Regions from separate parts of the Homo sapiens genome. Here regions 2 and 3 are each linked to region 1. The links are contacts of gene promoters, found by promoter capture Hi-C in blood cells and fetal thymus (Javierre and others, 2016). All regions are on one chromosome and are shown on one strand. Each heading gives the region's core, a stretch centred on a gene start or on the middle of the fragment in contact. The rest is flanking DNA. Distances are from core to core; before and after follow the strand shown. Region 1 holds the start of ST3GAL1 (ST3 beta-galactoside alpha-2,3-sialyltransferase 1). Region 2 overlaps ZFAT (zinc finger and AT-hook domain containing). Region 3 holds the start of NCRNA00250 (non-protein coding RNA 250).

Region 1 (3,632 bases), core at 1,133-3,632:
GCCGAGAGGTTAAGTCTGGCGACCAAAGAGAGACAGAGACAGAGAGACGGGAGACTAGAAGAGGCCCCACGCTGTACCCAGATATTGGCAGAGGCTGAGGGGCACGGAGTGGTGAACTCTAGTCAGTCATTTCAGCCAACCATGGGATTTCAGAAAACAGCCGGCAGGGGTCCTAATGTTTGGGGCAGGAAGGGGAGGTGCGGGAAGGCACTGAGGGACCCCCGCACTGGGCGCCCCTTCCCCACCGCAGAGACAAGCGGCAGTTTCCACAGCAGCCGGCAGGGGGCAGTGCACCTTGCCTTTTCGAAGCCTCTGGGCGCTTGGGCAGCGCGGGGTAAAGAAAATCAGGAGGCTCCGCCCGCAGCTTCTACGAACAGGCCAGGAGTAGAGCCCCCGCACGTAGTAGGTGCTCCAGGCACGTCTAGAAGCCTAAAGGGCTTGGTCGATACATTTGAACTCCATTTTAGAGACTGGAAGGGAAGAAGGGGGCGTCCGGGCCCCTGCCAGCACCTTCCACCTTGGGGCCTTGTCAATGAACACTGCGTTAGCACCTACGACGTGCCAGGCGCCCTGGCGACTATTGGAAAACCCGGCTCCCCTCTCACCCCGTTTTCCTCGTTGGCGAGTCGGCCTCGCCTCCTCCTCCCGTCTCTTCCTCTCACCACACACACCCAGCCGCAGAGCGGGGGTGGGCGCTCGCTGTCTCCCTGGAGAACCAGCTCGTCGCAAACTTGCGGGGCTTGGGGACCCGCGAGGGGGAGAAGTCGGGAGAGGCCAGGGGTGCCCGGAAACAATCACGAGAAAGCCGGGCGAATGCCTGATGCAGGGACGCGGCGAGCCAGTCACTGCCCTCAGGGTCACGGCTGACTCCCTCTGCGGGACTCGCCCAGCCCGCGAGACGCAGTGACCTGCCCAACCCCCACCCCCTTGCGCGCTTCTGGGTGCGCACGTGTCCCCTCGCCCAACACACCACCGAGCCCCGCGCATGGTACGGCCGCCGAGGACCCTAGCGTAGGAGGGAGGAGCGAGTCAGGGCTCCAGCTGACGAGCAGAGCCAGACGATCCCCACACGCTTCCTGGGAGACCCGGCTGCAAGGCCAGGCTAATGCGCGCTCCGACGTCTCTGTGCCAAGCCGGGGCGCAAGCTCAACCCCCATCTCAAGTTCAGCCGCGCTTCCTCCCGCAAGGTCACGCTTAAACACTCGCGCAGAGAAAGGAGGAGCGGAAAGTTGCGCCACCGTCCCGATTCCAAACTAACTGTACCCTCACCAGAGCGCCTCGCCCCAGGGTCACCGCTGTCCGTCCCCGTGCGCTCCCAGAAGGGGTGGCCCTGCCCCCACGCAGGTCACACACACGAGAGACACAGGCAAGTTGCTAACTTTTGTCAGATTATTTCTTGGGAGCTGCGACGCCTCACGGGGTTGGGGCGGATTCAGAGTTTCGAGTTGCCACTAACACGACTCCGGCCGTGCTCTCCTTGGCCCACCCGCGTCCCCCACTGTCCGCCACGCCGCGTTCAGCTCTCTTGTCCCGGGTGTCAACTTCACCCCCAGATCCGGAGCAGCGCGCTCTGACGGCGTCCCCGGGGCCGATAGCCACCTCCCGGATCTGCGCCTGCTTGCAGCGGATTGGGGGACTCGATCCGGATACTGTCCCACGGCCGCTCGTCCAGAACACTGGCGGCCTCCGCGGTGTCCCAGCCTGTGACCCCAAATCCGCTCGAGAGCGCCTGAGCCCGGCCACCCAGCGAGGTCTCCTCCCACGGGCGGCCCCAGCGGAGGAGATCCCAGCCCGGCGCCGGGTGCAATGTCACTGGGGCTGCTTTCGGGAACCGCTGCCCGGGACTTGGCGTAGGTTCCCCACAGAGCTCCAGGCAGCTCCTCCAGTGTCGGCCGAAGACCCCTAAGCCCGAACCTCCACCCCGACCTTCTTCCTCTCCCAAAGCCCTGGGTGGTCGCCGCTGCCAAGGAAGGGGTCTCCCTTCGAATGTCTTCCACTAGAATCCCGGGGTCTTCAGTCCCAGCTCCACTGTCACACCCTCCTAGTCCCCTCCCCACCCCTTCAGTTCCCGGGTCCAGACAATCAACCTTCCACTCCGAGAATCCACAGGAAACTGCCCGAGCCCCAACTCAGGCGGACGCAGCCCCCGCGCACCCCGAGCAGGGTTCGCCTCCGCGCGCGCACTCACCACGGCTGGAGACACGCTGGAGTTTCCGGGATTTGGGCATGAAGGGGTTCGGAGGAGAATACAGGGGTGTGGGTGTCCCGGACACTTGCCCCCTTCCCAGCTCACATCGCCTCTTCCTTCTCTCTCCGCTCTTCTTCCTCCTCCTCCTCCCTCCGGTCTAGGGCTCTTTGTCTTTGCAAAGTGTCGAAACTGTCTGGCATAGTGGGCTCCGCCGGCGGAGGCTGGAGCCGAGGAAGCGAGGAGGCGGGATGAGGGTGGGAGAGGGCTCGGGAACACCTTCCCCCGGGTGTAACGGGAGTGAAAGGCGGGGCGACCGAGGAGGGGCCGCCTTCCCTGGCCGGCCGGGGCCGGGTGCCAGGGCGCGCCAGAGCCCAGCCACCGCCTCCCCTGCGCGCGGCCCTCCCCTTCCTCCGCCCAGTGCCCGCCCCTCCCGACTCTGCGCCTCCGTTCGGCCCCGCCCACCCCAACTTGGCTCGGCTTTCCCTTGGCTCCGGGCTTCCTGCAAGCCGAATTTAGCTCTGCCAAGCCACGTGGACCGCAGCGGGCTCGGCAGAGGCCGAGCCTGGGAGACGCCGGAGGCGGCGGCTGCGGCGCGGGGACCTGATCGGCGCCCCGAGAGGAGCTCCCCGCTCTCTGGACGCGGCCCTCAAGCTGGCGGGGCTAAGGAAGAGCGCCCGGGAGGCCCGGGAGCCACTGGGGTCCGTTTCAGCAGGAAGACGGGCACGCACCGAGAGGATGGCAGTGCCCAGAAGAACTCGAGTCGGGGGCACGGTGGGGAGAAGGGGCCGATCCCCTGCTGGCGACCGGGCAGAGCCACCCACTTCCTCTAAGGGCGCGGGACTCGAGGTGGGATTTAGGGAGGGGGAAGGGAGGAGCGTGGGCTGGACGACTCTTGCGGCCAGAACCGCGTTCAGAGCCACAGAGCCGGGCACTGCGGCCGGCCCTGGTCCCGGCCCCGGCCCTGGCCCAGCCCTTGCCCTGGCTCGCCTGCCGCCGCTTTTTCCTTCCAGATGCGGAGGCTGCGGCTGGAGCTTGGGGTTTGCGGATTAGGCTTGCAGTTATTCAGCCCTCCCTCTTTTACAGGGAAGCGGGGGCGGTGGAGACTTCTTTTGCTGAAAGGCAGAGTGCAGCGCTTTGATGCTAAATGCAGTACACAAGTCATGTAAATCTGGTTTTACGGTTCTTAACCCCTTACTGAGACTACCTCTTTCGCAACTTTTCGGAGGAATGTTAGAGGAAAGAGGCACAGTTTGCCTTTGGGGTCATTGCATCCTTCCAGCGCCCCTTGCTCCAGCTGGAGAGAGATCAACCTTTTGCAGTGGAAGGGGAGAGTCCCCCAGCCTTTGTTTCATCAGACGGCTGCTGTAGTACAGGGATTCAGGCCAGGGCCCGCATGGCCGGACTTCTTGGTTCAAATCCTGCACTGCCACTCAACGGATGTGTG
Region 2 (4,262 bases), core at 1,386-3,885, 1.1 Mb after region 1:
TATTACAGCACTGTTCACAATAGCAAAGACTTGGAACCAACCCAAATGCCCATCAGTGATAGACTGGATAAAGAAAATGTGGCACATATACACCATGGAATACTATGCAGCCATAAAAAAAGGATGAGTTCATGTCCTTTGCAGGGACACGGATGAAGCTGGAAACCATCATTCTCAGCAAACTAACACAAGAACAGAAAACCAAACACTGCATGTTCTCACTCATAAACGGGAGTTGAACAATGAGAACACATGGACACAGGGAAGGGAACATTACACACTGGGGCCTGTGGGGGGTTGGGGGTTGGGGAGGGGGAGGGATAGCATTAGGAGAAATACCTAATGCAGATGACAGGTTGATGGGTGCAGCAAACCACCATGGTACATGTATACCTATGTAACAAACCTGCATGTTCTGTACATGTACCCCTGAACTTAAAGTATAATTAAAAAAAAAAACAGAAAAAATTAGCCAGGCAAGGTGTTGCATGCCTACAGTCCCAGCTACTTGGGAGGCTGAGGCAGGAGAATCGCTTGAACCCTGGAGGCAGAGATTGCAGTGAGCCATGATCGCACCACTGTACTCCAGCCTGGGTGACAGAGCCAGACTCCCCCTCAAAAAAAAAAAAAAAAAAAAGAATTTGAAGCAAAGTCACTTGTGGGGAAAGAATGTAAAGAAAGCACTGGATGATAGTTTGGCTAGAGCATAATAATTGGATTTTCTGGCTTTCAAAAATTTGGATTGTAATAAAAAGAAACTTTGTGCTACTTTTACAATTTTCAGTACAAATAAATGTGTGTATTGAGAAACAATAAAATTAACATATTTGAGTACCTTTTTTAAAAAAAATGAGGGATGGTAAAAGGATGTAAATGGTGGGAAGCTTTCTACACTTCACTCACACAGATCAAATGGCAACAAACAGTGCTGCATCTTGACTGCAGGAGTAATGACACAAACGTACACCAATAAAAATGGATTCAAACTATACACAACACACTGCACCGGCACCAATTTCTTGGTTTAATATTGTATGATAGTTAGTTACATAAGATGTAACTATTAGGTTGGGATAATAAAAAAAAAGTTCTAGAGATCAAGGATGGTGATGGTTACATAATACTAACGTACCTGATGCCACTAAACTATCTACCGAAAAATGATTAAAATGGTAAATTTTGTGTTGTGTTGTGTATATTTTATATTTATTTTAAAAATGTAAACCACTTTTGGGTAAACTGGGTAAAAGGTATGTGAGACTTCTGTATTATCTTTACAACTTCCTGTGAATCTATAATTATTTCAAAATACACATTTAAAAAAATAACTGTGGCAAACAAAAAGACTCTGGATCTTCTGGAACAAACAATAATTTTGAGAAGATCATGTACACTGCTAGGTGGCTTATCCATGAGCCCAGTCAGTCCCAACTACCCTGGAAGATATGTAAGGCTCAGAAAGGTAGAAGGAGGCAGCTCCCAGAGGCACACACAGAATGCAGCCCAGTGAATGTGCCCATCTCTGCTGGGAGGGAAGTTTGGGATCTGAAAGGCTGGCTATGGACCCCACACCTTTGCCCAGTACCTTCTATACCAGCTGGTGGGGAGGTTTGGGGTCTGAAGGGCTGGCTGTGGACCCCACACCTCTGCCCAGTACCCTCTACACCAGCTGGTGGGGAGAGGCAGGGTCTGAAGGGCTGGCTTCTGCCACACCTTTGCCCACTGCCTTTCATACCACCTGTACTCATTACCTGCAGTGACAGCCTCACCAGCCCAATGCCAGCTTCCCCTTAGCGATGATGCTGCTGACACAGTAGGCACTCCATAAGTGCTAGATGATCTGATTATTACAAAATGATTAACCATTTATCAATGCCCTCAAGAAGACAAAATGCTACATTATGAGACTAGTACATTACTCTGTTTAAAAGCTCTAGATTAAACATCTCTTACTTCTTCTCCTTGATTAGTATAAATCATCCTCCCTGCTTTGTAACTATCTTTTACTTGTATTTATTAACTTTAGAGAGAGTACAACCACCAAAACTAAGATCCTATTAAATTATCTATCTTATGAGGAGAGGAGTAGGGTGGCAAATTCTTTCTGAGTTATACTTTTGTTTTCTTGTTTTTCATTTGCCCTTAAGTTATTAATTTAATAAGGGCCAGTAGCTTCCCAATAGGAATGGAAATATTTTAACAACATAAAGCCAGATTGCTGTCACATCCAGCGGAATCAATAAAGTCTCATATGTGCAGCTGAGTACAGTTTAAAATATCTTTTTTATATATTCAGGAAGAGACTCAGGTTAGAACAAACATTTTCCTTCCATTTAGCTCATCTTGCAGAACTTTTAATCAGCTGTGAATAAACTATGTCATCAACTTCATTACCGTCATTATACTTAGGGAAAACTTGCTGTAACCAAAACAATGGCATTGAAAGAGGAAGAAGCCGATGAGAAGGGAGGTTAAATTAAACCCTCACCATGAGCTGGCACCAGCAGAGGCTCATACGAGGCTTATTTAATTCTCACAACAATCCTGTGAAATAGGTTTTATTATTGTATTTCCTCAAATCTAAGACAGCATCTACTTTAGGGAGCACGGATATTTTACATACCACTAAAAAAGATAAAAACGCTGCCAAATAAACTCAGAGACACTAGCTTCTCACCACACCAACTGTAAGCTGCCTCCTGATCTTAGAGATGCTAAAATCTAAGTCTGGCCGGGCACGGTGGCTCATGCCTATAATCCCAGCACTTTGGGAGGCTGAGGCAGGCAGATCGCTTGAGCTCAGGAGTTCGAGACCACCTAAGGGACATGGCGAAACCTGTCTCTATCAAAAATACAAAAAATTAGCCGGGTGTGGTGGCGCCTGCCTGTGGTCACAGCTACTGGGGAGGCTGAGGTGAGAGGATCGCTTGAGCCTGGAAGGCGGAGGTTGCAGTGAGCAGAGATTGTGCCATTGCACTCCATTGTGGGTGACAGAGTGAAACTCCATCTCAAAAATAAAATAAAATTAAATTAAATTAAATTAAAAAGTCTTTGAATCAATGAAGTTCAGAAACATTTCCATATAACTGGGCAGGCTGGATGTTAGCTGGGGAGAGAGCCTGGCTCCCAACCTCGGCTCCCTCCCCTGTAAGGCCCTTTTTCCCCACTCTGCACACCGTACACACTCAGGCTGTAAGCCTGGCTTCTGAGCTCACTTCTATGGCAGCACAACAACCCTACTTTCAAGGGAGAGGAGATAAACATTTCCTGAGTACCAGAGGCTTTCGTACTCCCTCTCACATTTGATCTGGACAAGCTGGGTTGCTGCTAGCCCTTAAGGCACCTCTGTGAGAAATGGACAAACGCACCCTTCCTTAAGACACTAGCACCCCCTGTCAGAAAATGGTCATAACATATTGAGTTTGTTGGAATAATACGCTTTGCAGCCATTTGTAGAAAACTCATAATAAACATACAAATTCACTATGTGAAATGAGCCCCCTTAGAAGTGGCTCCCTTGGGGGCATGGAGGATACAAAAACAAAAGAAGAAGTGGCTCCTTTGTGCAGTGTGTAACCTGCACAGCTGTACACAGTAGCTCTGCTAATGTGTCAGACACAAAGATATGATTATCCCACGTTACAGATGAGAAAGCTATAACTTGCCTAAGAATCAAATACAGGCCTGTATGGTTCCACAGCTACTTGATGAATCGCAAGGAGCTTAAAAATTAGGTAGGAAAGCAGGTTGTATGTGTGCGCATCTACATATGAACATACTAACCACAGGCCACAGAAGCACGTGTGGAGAAGGCAGAGATCCCTGTGGCTGGAGCACCTGGAAGAGGTTTGTCAGAAAAGGGGAAGTTGAACTGCTCCAGGAGGTGGCCAGACAGCTGGAGGAAGGAAAGGAGAAGGGAGTGGAAGCCACACAGCCAGTGGGGGCAGAACCAAGAGCCTTGCCTGTTGGAAGAGCCTTGAGTGTGGAAAGAGGACAGGTTAAAGGCAGGGCAGGCACACTGAGAGCTGTGGCGGCTCCACCAAGAGCCCCCCGCCACAGACCGGTACCTGGACAGGAAATGGATGCAAGAAGCTCCTGCCCCGCAAGCAGGAGGCCCATCCTGGAGGTCTGGAGACAGGGGGTGGGGCACTTAGAAAGCCTGCTCTGTCTGATGGGGTAGCTGCCTCCCAGGTCTAGTCAATGGAGGCCCAAATATTGAATTTGTAGTTGGAATCCCCTGATTTTTAAGCACTGGCCATCAA
Region 3 (4,228 bases), core at 524-3,023, 1.3 Mb after region 1:
ATATCTTCGATAATAGAAATAAACATTTGTGGGATATCTACCAATTGTCATCTCAAAAACTTATTTTAATGTACAAATTTTATATCTAAAGATTTGCGCATGTTTCAAAATGCTTATTAGACTGATGTCATTACCATTCATTTATTCTAAAAAATGACAATTGAGCTGCTAAGTTTCAGGCATGATTCAAAAGCCTGGTTCTATAAATGTATTGAGCACCAACTACAAATCTTAGAAACACCATTAACTGATTTCTTTAAAATATCAGCTTATGTTTATGTTTTTTTCAGTTTATGCCATTTTATAATATGAAGATGTCCTCTATATCCTCTTTTTTAGAGATGGAATCTGGCTCTGTTGCCCAGGCTGGAGTGTAGTGGCACGATCTCGGCTCACTGCCACCTCCACCTCCAGGGTTCAAGCACTTCTCCTACCTCAGCCTCCTGAGTAGCTGGGATTACAGGTGCCTGCCACCATGTCTGGTTAATTTTGTATTTTTAGTAGAGATGGGGTTTCACCATGTTGGCCATGCTGGTCTCGAACTCTTGACCTCAAGTGATTTGCCTGCCTCAGCCTCCCAAAGTGCTGGTATTACAGGCATGACCCACCGTGCCTGGCCTCTAAATCCTCTTTATTTCATAGACAATCATCTATTAAAATCTGGAGATGAAATGTTCTTTCATTTCAGACAATTCAATATAGTAGGATGCCTCAGTGAATATAAAGCTTTTACATAATTTTTTTCCTCCTGGCGTTATCAGAAGAGGTAACAGAAAGTTAAGTTGGCTTTGTTAGGAGTCTCCTGGGAGCCCTAGGGAAAGCTACCTTAGTAGAGTGGGTGCAAGACCCCACTGGCCAGAAAAGAGTATAATTATGCTTTGAGCCCTGGATCATTCTGTAGAGGAAAGCTGCCCTCCAACCAGAAACATCTAATTTAGATGGTTATATGAGCGAGAAATAACTGAAAATTTGTTTGTTTGTTGTTGTTATAGCAGCAAGCTTTACTCAATGAATTAATTGGAAAAGTAAATAATATGACCATATTTGCACCCCAAATTTGTGGAGCTGCTCATACTAACAATTTTAAATTCTTTTTTTTCAATAGCTTTTAGGATACAAGTCATTTTTGGCTACATGGATGAGTTATATAGTGATGAATTCTGAGATTTCAGTGCTCCCATCACCCAAGTAGTGTACATTGTACCTAATGTGTAGTGTTTTTATCCCTGGCTCCCCACTCCCACCCTCTTGCTTCTGAGTCCATTATATATAAATGATATAAAGTGATATAAAGTCCATTATGTCACTCTGTATGCCTTTGCATATTCTAATAATGTTAAACTCTTAATTTCTGAACATGCAATTAAGTGAGCCTCTGCCTCTAGTAGTCTTTACAGTTGACCCTTGAACCACCCGGTTTGAACTTCGTTGAGCTGCTATACTTGGATTTTCTTCTGCCTCTGCCATTGCTGACAGTACAACCAACCTCTCCTCTTTCTCCTCTTCCTCATCCTACTCAACATGAAGATGATGAGGATGGAGAGCTTTATGATGATCCACTTCCACTTAATGAAGAGGAAATATATTTTCTCTTCCTTACGATTTTTTCATTAATGTTATTTTCTCTGGCTTACTTTATTATAAGAACACAGTATATAATACATATAACAAAATATGGGTTAATCGACTGTTTATGTTATCAGTAAGGCTTCTGGTTAACAGTAGGCTACTAATGGTTATGTTTTTGGGGATTCAAAAGTTATGCTTGGGAGTTTTGACTGCGCATACAGGGGTTGTTCCCCTAGTTCAAAGGTCAGCTGTATTACATGGCTTCCAGGTCTTTGATGGCTGTGCTATGCATGAGTGTCACTGCTGGAAAACTGTTATGTGCAGTTCCAGAAGCTGACATACTTAGTTAAAAAAAAAAAGGGTTGGGGGGGGCTACTCAGGAGGAATCAATACACACATACATATGTTGAATCACACAGACACTCACGTACTCACATACACACACACACACACACACGTACTCACACATGCTACACAATAGTAGGATGCAGAGTTCCATCATTTGAAACTCTGGAAAAACTTTCACCATTTTTACTATTATTACCAGCATCAACATCTTTCTCGCCATTGTAAGTCAAGACATTGGAAAAAGTCTGAAACAATAATCTTGACTATTCACAGTAACTCCGGAACAATGAAGGAGGAAGAATGAATGAGTTGCGCCCTGAAGATGGTGGGCTCTCCTTTATGCATGATCATCACGATCTCTCTGCAATGTCTGTCCTGTGACCTCGTGAGGTGTGCAGCGTCATGCCAGACATCTGTGTTTGGATGGCCCTCTGGCTCCTCCACAATTACTGCAGAGTCAGAAGTGGAATTTCCGCCTGATGTTTTATGTCAAAATCAGTATGAAAGACTGCAGCATGCTGAGTGAGCTTTCCGTTCTCGCTGAGATGCAATGCAGGGTCCACCCTCTGCAGGCCACAATTTTGCCTGGAGGCAAAGCATTCAGTCTTTCCATTGGCCTGACAATTTGAGCCAAGCTTTGAGGCCAACAGACAAAATGCACTAGCAACTGGAGAGGTGAGTTTTGTTAAATTACAATAACATCCATGCATCCAGGGGAGCTGCAAAAGTCATTCCTGTTCCTGTCAGATGCACTCAAAATCAACAGCCAAATTATTCCTGCCAAATGCTCTGAGGCTATTGAATAGAGTCTTGCACTATTTTAAATAGTAACTTAAAACCTCTAGTTTCATGGCTCAGTAATAATCATGATAATTCTAATCAGTATCCTCATTAGTGAATGCTAATAACTGTTTATTGAGTGGCCACCATGTGCAAGTGCTTTGCTAGATACTTTATGTATGCCAGATATTTAAGCTTCGTAATCGCTTTGTAAGGTGGATGTTATTATCCTGTCCTATCGCTGGAGAAACAAATTCAGGACACGTAAGCAACTTGCCCAGTGTTACCACCCACAGAGATGACGTCAGTGTACTTAAAGAATACATGGGCTAGGCACGGTAGCTCACGCCTGTAATCCCAGCACTTTGGGAGGCCCAGGCAGGAGGATTGCTTAAGCCCAGGAATTTGAGACCAGCCTGGGCAAAATGCAAAACCCTGTCTCTACAAAAAAATACAAAAACTAGTGGGCATGGTGGTGGGTGCCTGTAGTTCCCACTACAAGGGAAGCTGAGGTAGGACGATCACTTGGGCCTGGGAGGTGGAGGCGCAGTGAGCTGTGTTTGCACCACTGCCCTCCAGCCTGTGCTACAGAGAGATTCAGTCAAAAAAAAAAAAGGAATAGTCTTTGAAAAAAAATGGCTTAAGACTTAAGTATGTAAGAGCTACTTCCTAGCTCAGGGATATTTTAAACAAGCCTTTTATTAGAAAATTGTAAACATACAAAACTAGAGAGCTATACTCATCAAGCAGCTCCTATCAGGAATAATTTGGAAGTAAAGGGTTTTGAATGATTTCTACCTTATTTTTCTTGGAGGAGAGCCAAGTCCTTAATAAGAATTTCTGCAGAAGAGGAGCCTGGGGCTGAATCTTATTTATAGAGGCAAAATACTATTTTTATTTCAATCTCACATTCTTACTGTCCCCTTGAATTTTCCAATTAATGCTGAAATAGCAAATAATATGAAGACTTAATTTTGAGTCGTCTAGTCCTCCTCATCCCTACTGCAAATCCTCAGTTTAGGTTTAAGGCAGGTTTATGCTGAGTCACATAATAGTCTCCTCCCTTGTTATAATCCACAGCAAGACTGCAGGGGTTCTTCATATTGTGGAACAGGCCTAAGTCAACTTATGTTTAGCAAATAATTGATTTAAACTGAGGTTGATTCAGTGGTATGCTGTAGCATGCTCATAGTGGCTCACAAGAGCTAATTGTACATGTCTCTTTCTAATTTTACATTTGATGACATGACACTGGTGACTTGAAATTGGCCACGGTGAGAGTATTTATACCATGGAAATTGACAAATGTACAAATCAGGGCTTCTGTTCCTCCAGAGAGGCAGTTGTTAAATATTTATCAGCACATTACTGGGTAGATTCTATTATTTGCTCAAAAGTATCTGCTGTCCTTCACTGTGGGTCTACTCCCCACTACTCTTCCCTGTGAGACTAGTATGTTTTTCACCCATCAGAAGTCCATCTTCGAGGGATAAAAGACTACAAATATGGTGCAGTGTATACTGCTTGGGTG

What was found. The method cuts DNA at HindIII sites, captures the fragments that hold promoters and counts their contacts. A CHiCAGO score of 5 or more calls a contact.
Region 2: a fragment that was not itself captured here is called in contact with the fragment with the promoter of ST3GAL1 in region 1 in 11 of 17 cell types (naive CD8 T cells, fetal thymus, megakaryocytes and 8 more); the score reaches 13.9 in naive CD8 T cells.
Region 3: a fragment that was not itself captured here is called in contact with the fragment with the promoter of ST3GAL1 in region 1 in 1 of 17 cell types (erythroblasts); the score reaches 7.1 in erythroblasts.

The regions. Positions count from the first base shown.
Region 1 is chr8:133,569,505-133,573,136 of GRCh38, forward strand. It overlaps ST3GAL1 (ST3 beta-galactoside alpha-2,3-sialyltransferase 1), which reads right to left and starts at 2,383. Exons shown (of 10, transcript NM_173344.3): 1 at 2,189-2,383. It overlaps ST3GAL1-DT (ST3GAL1 divergent transcript), which reads left to right and starts at 1,068. Exons shown (of 2, transcript NR_186509.1): 1 at 1,068-1,366; 2 at 1,554-3,632. RefSeq lists enhancers at 143-212, 170-1,023, 383-602 and silencers at 2,393-2,882, 3,073-3,132. The HindIII fragment of the contact is 9,717 bases long and covers 1-3,632 here.
Region 2 is chr8:134,679,645-134,683,906 of GRCh38, forward strand. All of the region lies in intron 1 of ZFAT (zinc finger and AT-hook domain containing), which reads right to left. Among named protein-coding and RNA genes, the nearest start is that of ZFAT, 31 kb to the right of the region's middle. RefSeq lists enhancers at 3,291-3,440, 4,071-4,160. The HindIII fragment of the contact is 3,506 bases long and covers 883-4,262 here.
Region 3 is chr8:134,835,718-134,839,945 of GRCh38, forward strand. It overlaps NCRNA00250 (non-protein coding RNA 250), which reads left to right and starts at 2,352. Exons shown (of 3, transcript NR_126028.1): 1 at 2,352-2,592. The HindIII fragment of the contact is 1,553 bases long and covers 998-2,550 here.